2 separate regions of the Homo sapiens genome follow, and region 1 is linked to region 2. The links are contacts of gene promoters, found by promoter capture Hi-C in human tissues and cell types (Jung and others, 2019). All regions are on one chromosome and are shown on one strand. Each heading gives the region's core, a stretch centred on a gene start or on the middle of the fragment in contact. The rest is flanking DNA. Distances are from core to core; before and after follow the strand shown.

Evidence for each region. Contacts are between HindIII fragments. The study calls those that stand out against the background at their distance.
Region 1: a contact is called between a fragment that was not itself captured here and the fragment with the promoter of USP2 in region 2, in 1 of the 25 tissues and cell types used here (dorsolateral prefrontal cortex).

Annotation. Positions count from the first base shown.
Region 1 is chr11:119,712,838-119,718,421 of GRCh38, forward strand. The region is part of intron 1 of NECTIN1 (nectin cell adhesion molecule 1); the gene reads right to left. NECTIN1-AS1 (NECTIN1 antisense RNA 1) reads left to right here. Exons shown (of 3, transcript NR_183634.1): 2 at 55-175; 3 at 762-1,088. Among named protein-coding and RNA genes, the nearest start is that of NECTIN1-AS1, 5.7 kb to the left of the region's middle. RefSeq lists enhancers at 1,410-2,050, 5,092-5,584. The HindIII fragment of the contact is 5,265 bases long and covers 1,411-5,584 here.
Region 2 is chr11:119,379,630-119,384,756 of GRCh38, forward strand. USP2 (ubiquitin specific peptidase 2) reads right to left here and starts at 2,061. Exons shown (of 13, transcript NM_004205.5): 1 at 1,844-2,061. USP2-AS1 (USP2 antisense RNA 1) reads left to right here and starts at 2,149. Exons shown (of 4, transcript NR_034160.1): 1 at 2,149-2,279. RefSeq lists an enhancer at 1,139-2,128. The HindIII fragment of the contact is 18,363 bases long and covers 1-5,127 here.

The sequences.
Region 1 (5,584 bases), core at 2,793-5,292, 340 kb after region 2:
CAGCCTTTAACCTCAATTCCAGTTGCTTAAAGTATTTTTTTTCTTGACACATAGTGCCTGGCACATAGTAGATGCCCAAAGAACATCTGCTGACTGACCTCACCTAAAGCATTTGGGCAGTTACCCACAGGTGCTCCATGACACCTTCTGGCCAGCAGAAAGGACCTGCAGCCAAGTGAGTCAATGGGTGGGGCGGGTGGCACCGTCAAGGAGGGCACCTGGAGACGCTCTCTGGGTGGCCATGGGGGCCTGCCCTTCCAGCAGGGAATATTTAGGGGCATCCAAGCAGCCTGTGGGGGAGGGTGGTGAAAGCAGGTCACTAATCTCTCTTGGAGATTAAGTACCACACTGGCTTTGGAGACCAGAAACCAGCTGGGGGAGGGGGCAGAGGCCTATGGAGGGCTGTGGAGGGACAGAGGGTGAATCTTGCCTGGGAGGTGACAGCCCAGGGCAGGGGTAGGTGTGGGGGCTTCTTTTCTGAGGCCTGGGCAGAGCCTAGAAGGATCTCTAGGGTTGTGGGGTGGAAGGAGAAGCTGAAATTAGGAAGAAAAAACCATCCATGATTTATTAACCAGAGTCACTAATTATTAACCAGTTTGACTCCTGGACTTGAGGCCCCAATTCCTGGCCTCCCCTAGCTTCCAGAGTGTTGAGCTCCCCCAACGTGCCCCGTCTCCCCCCTTCCCCTGCCCCCTCCCCACCCTTACCCCAGACTGTGACTGTCTCTGCCCAGCCTTGCCCTTATCTCCTCTTATCTCCAGGTGCTCTGGTGGCTGCTACTGAACACCAACCGCTACTCTCAGCCTTGGGGGTGACAGGAAAGAATGGGACCGCAGTGATTGAAACTTATTTGGGGCAGGAAGCTTGGCCTGGATGACCTGAGGGGCAGTCATGTCCTCTGGCCCACCCAGTCTTCACTTCTCACCTCCTCACCCCCCGCCCTCTGGAGGGCAGCTCCTATCTCTCCTGGGTTAGCCTCAGAGTTCGGCGAGGGGAGGCACTGTTTGGGGCTACAGTCCTGGGCCCGGCGTTGCTTGCCAGTGAGATGTCTGATGCCAGGGGGGTGCCAAGGAGCAGCAAGCCTGGGGACTTGGGGAGAAACTCTAAACAGAGTCTCCTGGGCTTTGGGGGCAAGGGATGCTGCAGACCCTGAGTGGCCCCCCCCTTGGTATTCAGGACAGAGGCTTCTGAGTTGCTCTGAGGGTACATCGAAGCTCAGATTCTCCAGGGGTAAGAGATTCTTTCAGCCATTGCTGCAGGAACCCCAACTCAGTCAGTCCCACCAAAGAAGCAAAGAGGCAGGAGCGGCAGCCTCTGGGTGGGCCCCTATTGAGGGGCAGCCAGGGCCTGCCTGGGGGTTGTGTTAGAGCCTGGATGGCACTCATGAGCCACCTGTGGGGTGGTGGCCCCTGGACTTCCAACTGCAGAATGTGCCTCTGTATCCCAATGCCAAAAGCGGGGTGCCTCACCCTGACACATGCTGTGGCTCGCCCTCCCAGGGCCATGACATGCCACAGAGCCACTGCACCATGGCACGAAGCAGCAACAGGTGACACGGGAGGCTGCCAGGTCACCCCACCTGCAGGATCCCTGTGATGTACCTCCTTCCACGAGTCACCACACCCATCCCCAAGCAGCCCCACATCCATCCCCCATGGCGGTGCAGGCAGGTGGGGAGCACAGCCCAGCCCACCGCAGGGTGAACTGATGCAGGCAGAGGGGAATGCTCCACATCCCCGCTGTCCCCTGCCCTGTCCTGTCCTGCCCACGGTCCCTCTGCATCCTGACCCTCTGCAGTATGCTCCCTCTCCCTGTCCCCTCTCTCCCCATCGCCAACTTAATTCCTTAATTCCTACTGGAGATAAGCGGATCTTTCACTGAAATTTATCATTAATCCTAAGGAAAACAGGGGTGGGAAGGGGGTGGGGGTGGGAAAGGGATAGAGGGAGGTGGGGAAGCTTGGAGGGCCCACCCACACTGCCTCCTCCTAGATCTGGGACAGCTGTGGTGGCTGGGAATCCTAGGCTGACATCCCTGGGCGTGGCAGCCCACATATGGAGCTGTTACTGGGGATCTGAGGGGAGCACCTGAGATGGTGAGGTGTGTGAGACTCAGGAGAGGTGAGACGGGGGCCGAGGCTGTCTGTAAATGCCTGCAGGATCACATGAGCTCCATGCGATTCCAACACTAATGGGAGGGAGCTTCAGGGGGAAGGGGGAGCTGGGGGCAGTCAGGGCTGTCCTGGCTTCCATGGAGGGTGGTGAGTACCCTGTCAGTGGAGGGATTCAGCTGCAGCTGGAGGATGACCAACAGGCCAGAATGTGGTTAGGGGTTTTAGGAAGTGAATGGGGTGCTACAGCATTTGATTTCCCTTCCAATGCTAAGACTCCAGGATTCTCTGACATCCTCTCCACCTTCCCCTGCAGGGCAGGGAGGTACCTTCAGCTGCAGGCCCAGCTGGGAGGCTCTTTCCAGACCTGGGTCTGGGAGAGGAACAAGTGGGCTCAGGTTAGTTTTTTATTTTTATTTTTTTTTAAGATGGAGTTTCACTCTTGTTGCCCAGGCTGGGGTGCAATGGTGTGATCTCGGCTCAGTGCAACCTCCGCCTCCTGGGTTCAAGTGATTCTCCTGCCTCAGCCTCCTGAGTAGCTGGGATTACAGGTGCCCATAACCATGCCTGGCTAATTTTTGTATTTTTAGTAGAGACAGGGTTTCACCATGTTGGCCAGGCTGGTCTCGAACTCCTGACCTCAGGTTATCTACCCGCCTCGGCCTCCCAAAGTGCTAGGACTATAGGTATGAGCCACTGTGCCCAGTGGGCTCAGGTGTTTAACACATCTTGGCAGAATGAAGGAGAATGCAGGCCCCTGCCTAGTGTCACTGTCCCTTCACGTCCAAACAGGATGGCTTAAAGAGACTGAGGCCTGACCCACAAGGCCCTAGCTCCATCTCTCCACCATCCACCCAGGCCTCAACCCGACTAGCATTCCTGCTTGAAAGAGCTGACACCCTCAGGGATCACCTGCTGTGTGTGAGGTCAGAGGTCAGAGCGTGGATGCCATGCAGTGCTGGACTGGATATTATGTTTGTTGCTGTCTACAGCTCCCACCTCTGTGCCTGGCACATGTCGAGTGAATGCCAGGATGAACCTGTCTGCCTCTCCCACAACACATCCAGGGCAGTGGGATTCCTACAGGGACTGGCACTGGGCGCTTGGGGCAGCCAGAATTCTGCACCTTGAGTGAAACCCTTGCTTTCCTTTCAGAAGGGAGCACAGGAGGCACCTGCCCAGGTGATCATCTGGGTTGGGGGGGCGGATCTCCAGTAGCCCAGGGGCCTGAGACTAAGACATACTCTGCTTGCATTGACCACCCTGGAGAAGTCACAGGAGCCCAGCAGAGGGGCTCCCCACAGCGTTCTGGGGCACACACAGCCAGGAGGGTTCCTGGGCCTGGCTTCCCCAGCCCCAGGGAACGGACCCTCCTTCTCCAGACTGGGAGTCCCTCCCAGTGGTAGCTCACAACAGTCCAGCGGTGCGAAGGCTTTCCCTGGATCAAGCAAATTATTGCTTGTGCTAAGCACACCACATATGTTATTCGCCCCTTCCAGCCTCTTATCATCTCATCCCATTGTACAGCTAGGGGAACTTGTTTAGAGAAGACACAGATACACCCGCTGACACAGGTAAGTCATAAAAGACTGAGATCATTTGACTCCAAAATAACCACTGGGTTCAGTCAATTTCTTGGGGAAAAATAGTCAAACTAGTTGTTTGTGACCCTGTAGACAAAACAATGATCTAAGACTGACCTTCGCCGGTTCTCTAACTGGCGGCTGGGGGGCAGTGTAGACCTTGCCCGGACAGTCATCATCTTTGATTGGCTCCCCCTCCTTCTCCACCCACCCTTAGTAGCCAGGCTGTGCCCCCAACCCCAGGAGGGGGGTGAGGGCCCCCTACCTGTGTGTGGGAGAAGATGGCGATCAGAGTCTAATCAGAAGCAGGCGCGTGCACACGCGCGCGCACGCACGCACGCACACACACACAGCACGTGACCTCATACACGCACACACACCATAAACCTTCCTCATACACACACAGAGGACATAAAAACACTTGTAAAGAAACACATAAACCAGCACAGATTATCATTACAGCGCAAACTGTGTACACAAGTGCCGAGGGGCTAGCAGTAATGGAGTGATGGGAGATGAGAGAGGGTAATGGGGATATTTCCTGGGAAGGGTGTTTGTGAGCAGAGCTTGGGGAGGAGGCCAGAAAGACTCTGCAGCAGCACTGAGAGGTGGGCGCCGAGGACTGATGCTCTCTCCCTCTTCCATCATCACCGCCCCTTCAGGACTGGCCACGAGGCCCATCATCTGACCCCTGGGAGGGTGGGGAACGGTGCTGTGGTCAGGGCAGAGGCAGGCCGGGAGCAGGGGGCTGTCGCACACGTTCCCCCAAAGGCCTATCCATCACGCCAGTGGAGACCATCAGAGTGCTCTGCCGGCCCAGGACACTGATGACTCTCCAGGCACCATAAAGACAGGGAATAAATCTGGGAAGTTGCTGGGTAGGAGGGTGCCTCAACGGCAGGGCTGGCCACCCTGCCCGGGAAGGGAGAGGCAGCCCCTCCATCATTCTGAGAGATGCAGCAATCTAGGCCAATGAGATTGGGACAGTTCAGGGGGTGGGGGAGGTGGGCAATCACGATAAAATAATCCAGTGCAGTGTGGCTGCTCCGCTCCAGTGTTATTTACAGTGTTATTTACACTCAGGGAGATGCCTGTCCCTGCCTCCGCTCCAATTTATGCCTAGGAGTTGCTGCAGAAAGCCTCTGCCACTGATTCAAAACCCTCAAAGGGGCCCGGTCCCAGAGGGCAGAGGAGAGGGACATAAAAGTGGCTAAGCTTGGGAGCCCGGCAGGCACCTGCAGGCCCGGGGGTAGGGGGGCTCTGGGCAATGCTGGTCCCTTCGTGCTGGCTGGGCAATGCTCCGGCTTGGATGGGAGTCAGGCAGGTCCTATGCCCTCCTTCCTCCTGTTGCTTCCAAGCACTTCCTAGGTGCAGGGCAGATCCAGCCCCAGGAGCTGATCACATAGCTCTGGCTTGTGTCTGGGCCACAGAGGCCGCGCGGTAATTCAAGCTAACGGAGCATGGATAATCTAGAACAGCGGAGGGTCTAGGAGGAATTTCGCTTTGGCGTCGACACAGATCAGATGACTGTTTTGCAGCCGAATTACCTTCCTAATTAAGCAAGAGAGTCTGTGAGGCCTGAGCCTGCATGGTGACCTGCAGGGTCAGGGTGTGCTGGGAGGAGCATCACCCTGGGTGACCCTCGAGAGGACAATCTGCACAGGGACTGTCTGAAGTCAACTCCCAGTCCTCAGCCACAACCCTGGGGAAGGGCTTTGATTTTTCTGCCCCCGTGATCTTCTTCCCTGGGATAGTTCTCTGCCCTCGCCTATGAAGCTGAGGACGCCTGGACCCAGGATCAATGCCTCTCTCCCCAGCTTGCTGTCCTGATCCTGCCTGGGGCAGAGGAAGCACCAGCCCTTTCATCCCAGGAGATCAAAGCAGCCGGCCC
Region 2 (5,127 bases), core at 811-3,310:
CTTATTGGCTCTGAAATAGTGGATAAGTCACTTAAGTTCTCTGAACCTTAGCTATTTAATCTGCAAAACGGGACTAATAGTAATAATAGTGGTCTATCTCAGTTGTGAGGATTAAATAAAATAATATTTGTAAATTTCATGGCCCATAGAGTTCAATAAACATTGATGATTATATTGAATACTTCCACTTCTTATTATAATTAGTGGTATTATTAATAATAGCGCCTTACCAGGTGAACCTTCCTAGGGAGAAAAGGAGGGTTACTCCTGGGGAAGTGTTCCTTTCTCTTTTTTTTTTTTTTTTTTTGAGACGGAGTCTCCGTCGCCCAGGCTGCAGTGCAGTGGCGCGATCTTGGCTCACTGCAAGCTCCGCATCCTGGGTTCACGCCATTCTCCTGCCTCAGCCTCCCGAGTAGCTGGGACTACAGGCTCCCGCCAGCACGCCCGGCTAATTTTTTTGTAATTTTAGTAGAGATGGGGTTTCACCGTGTTAGCCAGGATGGTCTCGATTTCCTGACCTTGTGATCCGCCCGCCTTGGCCTCCCAAAGTGCTGGGATTACTGCACTTTGAGCCACTGCTCCCGGCCGGAAGTGTGCCTTTCTAATGCCAGAGAACAGTCCCTTGGTTTTCTGAACTGACCATGTCCCATAACTGGGAAGGGCAAACAAGGCTTGCCATCTTCCTAGACGTCCAGTCCACCAAGCAGAGAAAGGCCAAGCCCATCTGGGCTCCTTCCCCCTTTGCCTAGAAAAATACGGCAAGTGCAGCTTCCCCCAGGCCACCAGGAGAATGCTTGGCCCCTCTGGGGTGGTTCCACTCTACCTGTGGGAGGGCTCAGGATTCCAGGGCCACAGAGCCGGGCTGGGCAGGGTCACAAGAGGAAGGAACGGGGTTCTTAGCCTCTCTGGCCTTGGTGCACTTGTCTGCTCCCAGGACGTTTCTCGATGGCTCTCCCCGAGGACTGGGAGTACCCAGCCTGGTGCCTCCACCCTGTCTTAGCACAGGCTACTGACTCAGCCCAGGTCCTAATGATGCACTTCAGAGGACGCCCTCATTCCAGTCCTCATTCTGACTCCAGTCTGACATGCATCTACAGCATCAAAGGAGGGGGCCTGCCTCGACCTTAGCCCAATCAGCTCTCCTTTCCTCTGCTTTACGGGGGTCCATCTGGGGGATGTTCTCATGCCCATTCCAGGGGAGGTGAGCAGCCCCTACCACTACCTCCAGCTCAGTCCCATTCTAAAGGCAGCCAGGTCAGGAGGTAGGATGTTCACTCTTCAGGGAAGGGCTAGAATGGGTTGGCTAGGGCTTCCCTTGACTGTTGAGAAGTTGCTCTCTCCGGAGCACCGCGTGCCTGCTTCTGGTTTGGGACTGGTGAGAATTTCAAAGCTGCCTCTTTCTGGTTTGGGATTGGTGGAAAATCTCCCCTTCCGCTTAATTGTTGCCCAACCCCCGCCCCTAACCCCCTTTAGCAAACTGACCGGGGAGCTTTAAGAGCAGCGAGTGAGCTGCACGCACACGTGGGGAGGGGGTTTGTCAGTGTCGCTCAGGCCACATACCACCGATATACACGGGGCACAGCGAGGAGGACCCGCCAAAGCAGCATTTCCTTAGAATACACTGATCAGCACACAGTTGGCTCTTCCTGGCACCCTGGGCTGTCAGCAGGCAGCCCTCACACAACTGGCAGACACAGCTGGAGCGTCCCTGCACAGCCGGCTCTCTCCCTATATTTCTAGTGTCCACTCTGCCCAGAATGTCGTGGACACCTTACTTTCTGAGCTCCAAACCGGCACTGATCCCCGAATCCCCCCTCCCGGATCCCCGACAGGTGGCACGTACCTGCCTCTTCTTGGAGTATGGACGAGTCGAACCGGGCACAAGCATGGAGCTGCGGGTGAGTCCCGGCTGGCGCTGGCGCGGCGCAGTGAGCACCAGCTGACGAAGAGGGCTCCCCGGCCTCGGCTCCTGCCTGACTCTCTCCCACCTCCGCCGGGGGCCCAGAAGGGACCTCCCCGGGAAATCGGCGCCACCCAGCGGGCAGCCGCCTCATCGCGCCTGGGCCGGCAGAGCCACACCCCGCGTCTCGCGTCACTGAGTCGCGTCACGGCTATTGGCTTGTTCCTACTGTGGCGTCATTAGAGCCCGGCCTCCGGCTGGGGCCACCCAGGCAACCGATATACACAGAGAACCACGTGGAGGAAAAGCACGCGAGTTTGGAGCGGGTGGAGCAGGAACAGAGGTGGACTGGAATGTCACACGACGGGGCAGCTGGAAGGTATTGGGAAAGAAGAGGCGTCATGGGAGAAGGCTCGGAACTTGAGCCCTGGGGCGTATCAACTTTCAGTTTTTAGGGAAGGCTAAACGTCCCCCACTCCCCTTCTCACTGGGCTGGGGGAGGTCCTGTTCCTCAGCCTCTTCTCTTTTTCTCTGCTGTCAAAGACACTCTCCGCTCATTTTACTTTCATGGGACCAGTGATTAGTGATGAATGCCTGAGTGGGTAAACGGAGGCACTGAGTCAATGAAAGAATTCTCTTTGGTCTTTTCAAGAAAAAGCCGAGACAAAACTTGAATTTTTGCTGCTCCCATTCCTTTTATGTAACCTTCTCCCGACTCCCCCGATGTTGATGAGGAAAATCGCACAACCAGGTAGCTGGGTACCAAGGCGAATCCAGGTTTTCAACTTCAGCTGCTCCATCAACCCTTGCAGCTGCCGTTAACTCCTCCCATCTTCACCATAGATCTCTCTCTCCATCGCTACTCTCCTCAAGTCCTTCCTTCTCTTCTATTTCCCAGAGAAATCAGACGCAATCAAGAGGGGAATTCTTAAATTTCTACCTACAAACATGTCTGAATCCATTCTTATCAGGAGCAGTGAAAGAGGCACCCCTGTTCTTGTCCAAGGCACGATTCCCTTCTTGATTTCAACTCTTGTTTTGTTTTTGTTTTTGTTTTTTGTTTTTTTGAGACGGAGTGTCGTCGCTCTTGTTGCCAAGGCTGGAGTGCAATGGCGCGATCTCAGCTCACTGCAACCTCCAGGTTCAAGCAATTCTGCCTCAGCCTCCCAAGTAGCTGGGATTACAGGCGTGCGCCACCACGCCAGGCCGATTTTTTTTTTATAGAGTCTTGCTCTGTTGTCCAGGCTGGAGTGCAATGGCATAATCTCGGCTCACTGCAACCTCCTCCTCCCGGGTTCAAGTGATTCTTGTGCCTCAGCCTCCCCCGAGTAGCTGGGATTACAGGAGCCCACCACCACGCCTGGCTAATTTTTGAATTTTTAGTAGAGACAGGGTTTCACCGTGTTGGTCAGGCTGGTCTTGAACTCCTGACCTCAGGTGATCCACCAGCCTCAGACCCCCAAAGTGCTGGGATTACAGGTGTGAGCCACTGCACCCGGCCCCAGCTAATTTTTTGTATTTAGTAGAGATGGGGTTTCACCATGTTATATTTCCTTAGGGCCCTCATTCCATCACTTCATTTTACAGATGGATATTGGACATGCCAGTCACTCTTCTAGAAACTGGGGATATAGCAGGGAACAAAACAGGCACAATCCCTGCCCTCAGGGAGCTTACATTCTAGTAGAAGCAGGACTAAATAAGTAGAATATGTAATATGTTAGATGATGCTAAGAGCTATGGGGCACATCAAGCAAGGAGGAGGTGCGTTCGGAGAAGGTAACATTCAAGTGACCTGAGGGAGGCTAGGCGTGAACTACACATAAATGTGGGGAAAGAATGTTCTAGGCAGAGAGAAGAGTAAAAGTAAAGGTCCTGAGGTGGGAGCGACCTGCCACTTTCGAGGAAGAACAAAGTCAATGTGGCTGGAGTGAAGAGAGAGAAAGATAGGGAAAGAGTGGGAGACGCGATCAGAGAGGTCAGAGAAGGACCCAGCCTGTAGGTCCCCAAGGCCATTCTGAGGACTTTGGCTTTTATGAAGCTACTGGAAGGTTTTGAAACAGGGTTGTCCAATCTTTTGGCTTCCCTGGGTTATGGTAGAAGAAGAATTATTGTTTTGGGCCACACATAAAATACACTAACACTAAAGATAGCTGATGAGCTTTAAAAAAAACTCATAATGTTTTAAGAAAGTTTACGAATTTGTGTGGGGCCACATTCAAAGCCATCCTGGGCCACATGTGGCCTGCATACTGTGGGTTGGACAAGTTTGTTTTGAGCAGAGGAGGGACACGGATCTGATTTTTGTTTTAACAAAATACCTTTTGCTACTGTGTAGAGAACAGCTCTGAAGAGAGCAGAAGCGGGAGACCATTTAGGAGGTCATTGTGAGCGTCTGGTTAGTGTGGTAGCAGGACAGGTGATGCAAAGTGGTGGATTTTGGAAGTATTTTGAATGTGGACTAACAGGATTTTCTGATGAATTAGGCAGTGTGGGGAGGAGGGAGGAATTTTTCACCTGAACTTTAACTGAGGAGGGGAAGGCTATGGTAGGATAATCGCTTGAACCTGGGAGGCAGAGGTTTCGGTGAGCCGAGATGGTGCCACTGTACTCCAGCCTGGGCGACAGAGCAAGACACAGTTTCAAAACAAAAAACAAAAAACATATGTCTACTAGGCATCAAAATGGAGATGTCAAGAAAGCAGCTGCATATGCAAGTTTGGTGTGGTCTGGGCTGGCGATAAAAGATTGAGAGTCATCAGCATATGGAAGTTATTTAAAGCCAGGAGATGAGAAGAATTACCAAGGGAGCAAGTGTAGATAGAAAAGATGTGCAAGGACTTAATTCTGGAGCTCTCCAATATGAGCTTGAGATCAGTTGGAACTGTCAGAGAGATGGAGGCATAGGACCAGTGTAGAGAGGAAAAAATCCCAGGAGATGGTGGTATGCTAAAGGCCAAGAGAAGGAAACTTACCAAGGAGGAGGGAAAGGTCAATTGTGTCAAATGTGGCCCATAAATTATGTAAGATGAGTTTGAGAATTGATTGATTGATTTTTTTTTTGTTTTATGTTTTGTCCCTCCCTTGCCCCCCTACTGGAAAGTATATAGAGCAAAGATAATTGATTGAAGGTCATTGGTGATTTTGACGAGAACAGTTTTGGTGGAGTGGTGGGGGTAAAAGTCTGATTGCGGATGAGTTTAAGAAAGAATGGGAGGAGAGGGATG